Linked DNA regions of Homo sapiens: region 1 is linked to region 2. The links are contacts of gene promoters, found by promoter capture Hi-C in human tissues and cell types (Jung and others, 2019). All regions are on one chromosome and are shown on one strand. Each heading gives the region's core, a stretch centred on a gene start or on the middle of the fragment in contact. The rest is flanking DNA. Distances are from core to core; before and after follow the strand shown.

What was found. Contacts are between HindIII fragments. The study calls those that stand out against the background at their distance.
Region 1: a fragment that was not itself captured here is called in contact with the fragment with the promoter of NGDN in region 2 in 1 of the 25 tissues and cell types used here (spleen).

What each region holds. Positions count from the first base shown.
Region 1 is chr14:23,099,442-23,104,131 of GRCh38, forward strand. It overlaps CIROP (ciliated left-right organizer metallopeptidase), which reads right to left. Exons shown (of 16, transcript NM_001354640.2): 4 at 4,234-4,377; 5 at 4,030-4,107; 6 at 3,846-3,941; 7 at 3,485-3,610; 8 at 3,188-3,272; 9 at 2,903-3,048; 10 at 2,651-2,825; 11 at 2,401-2,470; 12 at 2,228-2,324; 13 at 1,851-2,123; 14 at 1,409-1,638; 15 at 1,061-1,240; 16 at 1-48. It overlaps C14orf119 (chromosome 14 open reading frame 119), which reads left to right. Exons shown (of 2, transcript NM_017924.4): 2 at 1-1,015. Among named protein-coding and RNA genes, the nearest start is that of CIROP, 3.2 kb to the right of the region's middle. The HindIII fragment of the contact is 8,875 bases long and covers 1-4,690 here.
Region 2 is chr14:23,467,032-23,471,267 of GRCh38, forward strand. NGDN (neuroguidin) reads left to right here and starts at 2,672. Exons shown (of 11, transcript NM_001042635.2): 1 at 2,672-2,696; 2 at 3,011-3,070; 3 at 3,875-3,946. The coding sequence starts at 2,685. RefSeq lists a silencer at 2,299-2,348 and an enhancer at 2,435-3,375. The HindIII fragment of the contact is 24,550 bases long and covers 1-4,236 here.

The DNA of each region.
Region 1 (4,690 bases), core at 1,854-4,353, 370 kb before region 2:
AGCCTTAGGTGGGTCATGGAGGGATTATGGTCTGAAGTAACCAGCAACCTAGGAACATAGAAGGTAATATTTGGCATGGAATAATGCCTAGCCTTAGTAGATAAAGCGGCATTACCTTTTTTTTTTTTTTTTTTTGGAGACAAGGTCTTGGTCTGTTGCCCAGGCTGGAGTGCAGTGGTGTGATCTTGGCTCACCGTAATCTCCGCCTCCCAGGCTCAAGCAATTCTCCTGCCTCAACCTTCCGAATAGCTGGGACTACAGGCGCACGCCGCACCACCACGTCTGGCTAAGGGGCTTTACCCTTAAAGATAGAGCTCATGAAGCCCCGCCTCATCCAAGCATTAAGCTAAACAGGAAATCATTAAGAGGGACTATCGAACCTTAAAGTAGAAATAAGATCAAGATCTAAGTCTTCTAGCATCTTATATTATTGGAAGAAGACCTAACTTGGCAGCAAGGGAAGTGGCTTAAGGGAAGAGTCAGTCTATGTTCTTTAGGTAGCTAGACACAATCCCTAACAGTGCTTAAGAAAGGAAGGGGGCTGGGAGTGGTGGCAGTGGCTCCCAGCACTTTGGGAGGCAGAGGCCGGTGGGTTGCTTTAGCTCAGGAGTTGGAGACAAGCCTGGGCAACATGGTGAAACTGTCTCTATCAAAAATACAAAAATTAGCTGGCATGGTGGTGTGCACCTGTAGTCCCAGCTACTTGGGAAGCTGAGGTGGGGGAATCACTTGAGCCTAGGGAGGTCGAGGCCACAGTGAGCTGAGATCACCCCACTGCATTCCAGCCTGGGTGACAGAGCGAGACCCTGTCTCAAAAAAGAAGAAGAAAAAGGTGGGGGGAGGGGACTAAGATCCCTATGTCCTAGAGATGGGGGAATGTGTTATTGTATGGGAGGAGGGAGTCAGGTAGTGACGGGACTGGATGATCGTGTTAGGGATCTTTGTTCTCTGAAACGCAACCCTGTCTAGGACAATATACACGTGAGTGAGTGCTTAATAAATTTAATTTCAAACATCCGGACTCCATGGATTTGAAAGGAAAGTACTTGGAATATCTTACTTGCTGGGTTGTGTGGTAAAGTTGGCTCCTCCATGATACACTTCTAGGGGTTTTTTCTGGAGAGTCAGAGTCAGGGCCTTGTGCAGTGTAGCAACTGAAGGCCCTTGGCAGCCAGGGGACTTCCACATATGCACAGTAAACACCAAGCTAGTGGTAATTGATGGGCCATGGAAATAGCACCTAAATGGACATTTGAATCTTTTAATAGAGATATAGTTCCTGGCAGAGTATATCTCATGAAACAGATGCAGGCTTAAGAGTGGGATGAACAAGTCTTCAGAGGAGAGTCATAAAGTAAAGGACTTAGGGATTCTCCTTGGCCCATTGTATAAATACTCAAGCTTTTACCTGCCAGTGCCGCCTTTGCTCGCCAAAGCCTCCAGTACTGCTTCAGCTAGCCCTTCTTGCTGTTCCTTCCCCAGAGAGTGTCCTGGAGGCCCAGCTAATTCTAAAGAGAGCTGGAATAGTGGATCTGGGGTTGAAAGACTCACAGGTGGGGAAGTAACAGCATTGATATCTTCATTAGTCTGACACAGCCGACCCCGGGGACAGAAGAGAAGACCATAGTACCCAGGTATCTGCAAGGAAATAGGTAGCAGGATATGGTTTTGCCTTACCTGTTCAAGTCTTCCTTCTAAGGAAAATGTATATTCTAGATCAGAGTCATGGACTCAGTGGGTACTTAGGAAAACTGTATGCACATCAAAACAGGTTGGACAGTACCACCATACAAGTATTTCCCGACTTCTTTTTGCCAGTATGCTGCAACTACTACTCTTATGGTACCCACCTGTATAACCTTTCCAGGAAGGCATGGGACCCAAGGCGAGCCCTCCACCTGCACCTTGTAAGCTCCCCTCCCTGTGCATTGATGTAAGTAGCAGCGGCCCATGAGCTCTGCTTCCTTGAGGTGTGGGGTAAGAGAAGGATGCCTGGGCTTATCCCCAGGGAGCAGCTGTGAAGTGAGGTTGGCAAAGAAGCAACGGCTCTGGGGATGGTAGATCTCCCCATGGGGATTATCCACCCCAGCAGGGAATCCGTTTTCCTTCTTCCAGCATTCACTCTGAAGGGCAGGTCAGAAGTAGAATAGTGTTTGTTCTGATGCCTTTGAAGTTGACTGCCTTCCAGACCCACTCAGTTTCATTGTCTGCTCTCTTATCTACTCACCCCATTGGCTAAGGGCTTGTACATGCGGCAGCCTTCCAGCATGGGGTCTGAGGAGCAGCTTCCCTTGTCCAGGTGCAGGTAGTGGCAGCCCAGCCCACTGTGTGGAATGGATGGTAGAGTGACACTAGAATCACTGGCAGCCATACAGTCCCCTAACCACTCAGCACACACACCTGCCAGTACAGAAGAAGTCTGAGGAGCCAGTCCCACATGTGGTCACCAAGCCAAATTCTGGGCCAGATCCTGCTTGACAGATGAGAAGGAAAGAGAGCCCTCAGCAAATGAAGCCCAAACATCCTTCAGCACCAGCTATCCTCACAGCTTCGATTATACATCAGCAACAGACACCCCTCCAGCCTCCCACTTCCCCCAGAGCTGACTTGGGTCATGAGTGCCTCTCTGCAGGTCTCCCTTATTCCTCACCCTGGCCCCACAACAGCTCCTCTGCAGCGCTGTGGTTGACCTGGTACCAGCCTGAGTCTTTGAAGGCAGCGAGGGTGATTGGGTCGAGTCGAGTGCGCTGGGCTCCATCAAAGGTAGCAGTCATTAAAGAACCCTGGAGTAGTCTGGCCTCCCAGTGCGAGGACAGAAGGCCCTCCTGGAGGAGGTGGCAGATGGCTGGTTGTTAGCTGGCTACTCCTTTCTTCCATCACCCCAAGGTGTTCTCATTCTCACCTCTTCTTCCAAGGGAACACCCAGGGAAGCCCCCGACACTCCCAAGTGTTTGGCCAGGCTGAGGCTAACAGCTGGGGTGGTGAGAAGCAGTTGTCCCCACTCATCTTGCCTTGTCACTAGTTGCCTTGTAGAACAGTTCTCTCTAACTGCAGAAAGGGAAGAAGGCAGTACGAGGAGAGGAAAACTTAGGAAGGGTGAAGTAAAATTAGAAGGAAGGACGTTATGAGATAGTGAATTTCCTCTGGTTGATGGTGGAAAGTCCTTAACCTCATTCCTCTCATTTACCACTGAATCCTGAGGGGCAGTCTCGCCATTTCTTGAAGAGCTGTCCAGAGAAACCCAAGGCATGGAGCAATTCATGTAATGTGGCCTAAGGACAAATGACAGCCCAGTAAGGGGGCCGAATTTGCAGCAGGATTGACCAAACACTCTATAACCCCTCTGCCCAATCAGCTCTTCCTAGAGTTTGAGGCACCTTCTATTCCATCCTCTGTGGGTTCTTTGACTTAATGGGAAACTGAGTAACCTGGCCCCCTACCCTGCAACCTGTTTGCTTCTCCCTATTCATCATGCAGCAGTCACCATGACGATGTCACTGTGGCTGAGGCTGGGGCTGGTGAGATGTTGGGCACAGTAGACAATGGTACCAGCGAGGGGCCTGTCTTCTGAGTCCAGCTGGCAGCAGGCAGCATAGGCTATGACAGAGGGCTGTGGATGGGCCAGGACAGGGTAGGGCCAGAAAGGAGAAAAATAGGGTAGCACAAGTAGAAGAAGTCCTCTGAAAATGGAGGACCAGGGGACTCTGCAGAACTCTGCAGGAGTGGTATCAAGGGATGGCTGTGGGTGGGGGTAGCCTTTACCCAAACGTTACTAGCATTCCCTAAGTTATCCCAAATAAGCACAACTTAATAAAAACTGCTTTTGGCTGGGCATGGTGGCTCACGCCTGTAATCCTGATACTTTGGGAAGCCAAGGTGGGCAGATTGCTTGAGCCCAAGAGTTTGAGACACAGCCTGGGCAACATGACAAAACCCCGTCTCTACAAAAAAAAATACAAAAAATTAGCCGGACATGGTGGTGCATGCCTGTAATCCTAGCTACTCAGGAGGCTGAGATGGGAGGATCACCTGAGCCCAGGAGGTCAAGGCTGCGGTGAGCTGTGATTGGGCCGCTGTACTCCAGCCTGGGCAACAGAGTGAGACTGTCTGAAAACAAAAGCAAAATAAAACAAAACAAAACAAAACAAAACTGCTTTTATGCTCCCTAACCCTCCTCATGAGATTTAAGATTGAGAGAGACAGCAGGGAAAGGAAATTTGATTTGAACTTCACCTCTTGGTGGCACTTGGAAGTGTGAGCAACTCGCACATACAGGAGAAAATCAGTGTTTTGGACCCCAGGCCCATCTGGCTGGACCAGTTGTGGGGGACCCTGCTCCGGCCACAAGGCATAACCGCGAAGATGGGTGTCAGGAATCTGGCAGGGAGTGAAATGTTGCATTAGCAGAGGGGCTGGAACAGTAGGAAATTGGGTATGAGGAGTAGGGGAGAATGAATCTCTTTGGTCTGTCTTTGTGTTATCTAGGCAGCTGGCTAGAATAGAGTTCTGCCCCTTCACCCCCAGTCTCTGATTTAATAAATTTTAGCAGGGAGAGGAGCTCAAGAATCTACATCGTTAAGCACACTAAGTAACTCTGATGGTGGTGGTCTTGGAATGGTCATGGCAGGCTGCAGATCTCCAGATCCCTGAGACTGAGAGGTGAGCCTGCTCAGGATCCTGTCTTCCGTCC
Region 2 (4,236 bases), core at 1,422-3,921:
CAGTTGCTTGCATGACTCCGTTGAGCTTAATTTTTTTCTTTTGGCATAGTGAACTGGGGTCCCAAGTTATTTTCCTTTCGCATTCCCTATACCCCAAAGGATTGCTATCTAGAGAGGCTAAGAAAAATCTGAACAGACAGGCCTTGCTGGGATTCCCCCCTCAGTCTAGTTCTGTCAGATCATACTCTTTTTGTCCTATCACATTTCTACACGCTGTCCATTCTTCATCAAACCTAACCATAAAAATGGAATCTTCATTTCTGAAGGCTCCCGTGTCATGTAAAACTTTCAATAAATTCATCAAACTTTTTTCTTGTTAACTTCTTTTGTTATAGGAGTGTCTTCTATGACCCTTATGATGGGTGAGGAAAGGTATCACACTTTTCTGCCCCTATAGTTGACAAGTATTTTATTTTTTTAGAGATGGGGTCTCCCTCTTTCACCTTTTTTTTAGAGATAGGGTCTTGCTCCGTCACCCAGGCTGGAGTGCAGTGGCACGATCATGGCTCACTGCTGCCTTGACATGGGCTCAAGTGATTCTCCTGCCTCAGCCTCCAGAGTAGCTGGGACTACAGGTTCAAGTCACCGTTCCTGGTGGACAATTATTTTAATAATCAAGGCCGGGAGCAGTGGCTCATGCCTGTAATCCCAGCACTTTGGGAGGCCGAGGCAGGTGGATAGTGAGGTCAGGAGTTTGAGACCAGCCTGGCCAACCATGGTTTAGTAGAAACCCCGTCTCTACTAAAAATACAAAAAATGAGCTGGATATGGTGGCGGGTGCCTGTAATCCCAGCTACTCAGGAGGCTGAGGCAGGAGAATCGCTTGAACAGGGAGGCAGAGGTTGCAGTGAGCCAAGATCGCGGCACTGCACTCCAGCTTGGGCAACAGTATGAGACTCCGCTCAAAAAAAAAAAAAAAAAAAAAGGCCGGGCGCGGTGGCTTACGCCTGTAATCCCAGCACTTTGGGAGGCTGAGGCGGGTGGATCATGAGGTCAGGAGATCGAGACCATCCTAGCTAACATGGTGAAACCCTGTCTCTACTAAAAAAAAAAAAAAAAAAAAAAAAATCAGCCGGGCGTGGTGGCAAGTGCCTGTAGTCCCAGCTACTCGGGAGGGCGAGACAGGAGAATCGCTTGAACCCGGGAGGCGGAGGTTGCAGTGAGCCGAGATCGCGCCACTGCACTCCAGCTTGGGCAACAGAGCGAGACTCGGTCTCAAAAAAACCCAAAATATGGCAGTGCAATTTGTTTTCTCATTGCTATCATAAAGCATATGAACAAACTAAATTTCAAATTCCCCGAAAAGGAAAAGTTTATTGCTGATCTAATTAGACAGGTCCGAAAATTTATGTAGAAATAGAAACTTTTCATAATACAAATCTTGATAAAACATTACAAAAGCTACTGGATAATTGACTAAGTATGCTGCAACAGCATCCTGAGCTTCCACAGTGGGCCTGAAGCAGCAAATTAAATGTTAGAGGAGTGGGGACTGAACACCCTCCTGCCTTCTTGAATCCAGCAAGATCTAGATACCAGGATTTCCTTACCTCACCTGCCCAGATACAGGTGTTATTCTTAATTCCAAAAGACAGCTTCAAGTCGGTAAGATCTGATTTCTAGACCCAGCTCTGTTGGACGAGTTGTGAACAAAAAATTATACACTATCATTCACCCTTTCGGTGCTTTATTTCCTAAGGCATGGGATGGGAACAATGAGTATCCGTCCAACCTACTTCACCAGCTTGTGAAAAACCAGAGTGAGAGAACACATCTGAAAGCACTGGGTAATGATGAGGCAGGTTATACTGAAACATGCACTGCCAGAGTTTGAACCAAGTTCTGCTGAAGACCTGTGTGACCGCGGTAAGTCATGTAAATATGAACCGTTCCCCAATTTGTAAAACGTATTCTTTTCATGTCCCCAAACTGGTAGGAGCGAAGAGTGTCGGGGCGTTATTGGAGCCGTTTCTCAGCGCTCCACAGTGCACACCAAGAGGGCAGGTGTCCTCGCACTCGGTTTCTAAACTCTGGCTCTGGGCTTCTCTAGCCTCGCTCTCTTATTTACAGATGAAGAAGGCTCAGAGACCGAGTGACTTGTCCACGGTCACACAAGGAGTAGTGTTACAGAATCGATTCCAGGGCCACCGGGTCTGTAAGGCATTTGGCGCGGTGGCCGTTGGATGAGCAGCCAGCAATGGCGGCTCTGCAATGTCGACACCGCAAAGCCAAGCCAAGGCCCATCACCTAGCGGCCGGTTCACGCACTACAAGAAAAGTGCCGTGAAAAAAGACTCTGGGTGCTGCGGCAGACGGGAGCCAATACGCGCTAAGTTCGCTCTGCTAATTCCTTTTTTCTATTGGTCCTTCCAACTGTCAATCAATTATTTGACTGTCTCTTATTGGCTTGCCGTCAATCATTTTACTCAGTCTACCAATCACACGCTCTTTGCCAAGTGCTTTTTTTCGTCCTGACGACTCTTTCTGAGTCTGACGAATTTAGCCAGTTCCTTTATTCCATTGGCCAGATCAGACTCCTCCTCTCGTTTATCCTGTTGGGGGCGGAAGTGAGAAAGCCCTTATTCGTATTGGCTTAGATTTGCAAGCGGCAGTTGTCTATCAAATCTATCAAGTCGCCCTTAGCGCTCAGGAAGTACGACACCGGAAGGGGTGGGCTTTGCGAAGATGGCGGCGCTGGTGAGTTTGGTGTGGTTTCTTCCTCGCGTAGCTATTGTGGAGTTGTCCTTTGCCTTCAGCGGCTGGAGGCAAACTGTTGGTACCAGGGAAGGGTGGTGATGAAAGTTGCTTCAGGGAGGCGGCCTCCCTAGAGTTACCGTTCCTGTCCGGTAACCCAAGGGGCTGGCTTTAAGGCGAGTCTGTGAACCCGAGTGTGAAGGCCCCGAGTCTGGGTGTCTGACGGAGAGAGGGCAGTTTCCCACCCTAGACGTTCCACTTTCCTATAATCCTGAGGAAAGAATGACTTTTCTTTACGCCTCCTCTCCCTTCTGTAGGGGGTGCTGGAGTCCGACCTGCCAAGTGCCGTGACACTTCTGAAAAATCTCCAGGAGCAAGTGAGTAGTGTCGCCTCTGGAATAAATTAGTCACGGATTGGCTTTGAGTTTGTGTACTTCACCTCAAAACTTTGGTGATTGAGATACGTGAATGCTTCCAAAAACCTTAGAGTAAAATGATGTAATCAAAACCTTTTCACGCCAGAATTCTAAGTAATTGATTCTGCACCCAAGGGAATACAAGAAACTCCAAAAAGAAATTATATGAATAGTTTTCCTTTATTCATATAGCTAAGGAAACCAGTGCTTGGAATGGTAACATGACTTGCCCTTTGGGTGCCCAGGTAATACACACTTATATACAGATGCTTCTCGACTTAACGATGGAGGTTATGGCCTGATAAACCCATTGTAATTCGAAAACCTCATAAGTCGAAATTTAGGCTTGATGCCGCTGCCCAGCATCACGAGAAAAGGACGGTTTCTACCGAATGCATATTTCTTTTACACCCTCGTAAAGTGGAAATTAAGTCATAAGTCGGGGAGTTATGTAGTTCTATGCATTGTAAGTTCAACTAGTACAAACAAAATTACAGTGCTTCAGTCACTACTCTCTCAGTCCTTTTCTCCTCCCTGTGGTTCAGTAAAAGATGGTCTCTTCTTTAAGAAGTGGAAAGTTTTTTTTTTTTTAAACTTTTTGAAGAACCATCTCTCCTATGCTTTCCGAGAAGTGAGAAGATAGTACTATACTTTAGACAGTGTTTCAGATAATTTTTAGGTGGCATTGTTTAGCTTTTGCTCTTCACAGTTTGCAGACATAATTTGATATAATCTAATCACTTGTTTTATTTGGGCTAATTTCAGGTGATGGCTGTAACTGCACAAGTGAAATCACTGACACAAAAAGTTCAAGCTGGTGCCTATCCTACAGAAAAGGTAAGATGTACTCAAACAGTAAGCATCCCCTGACTTAATGTTCTCAGTAGTTCTTTCATTGTATGTTTATTGTGTCTTATATATCCTAAGTGCTCGAGCTTCAAACATAAATATGATCCAGTTTCTGTGCTGAAGTCTAGAGGGAAGACAAAGCAAAGCAATAGATGTAAGTATTAATAGTAGCAGTCACATTACAGAGTTATGAGTCTCCAGCCAAAGAGAGGGATTAATTAACTGCCAGAAGAGCAGAGGGATTCAGGACAGGCTTCCCAGAGGAGGTGATAGGATTT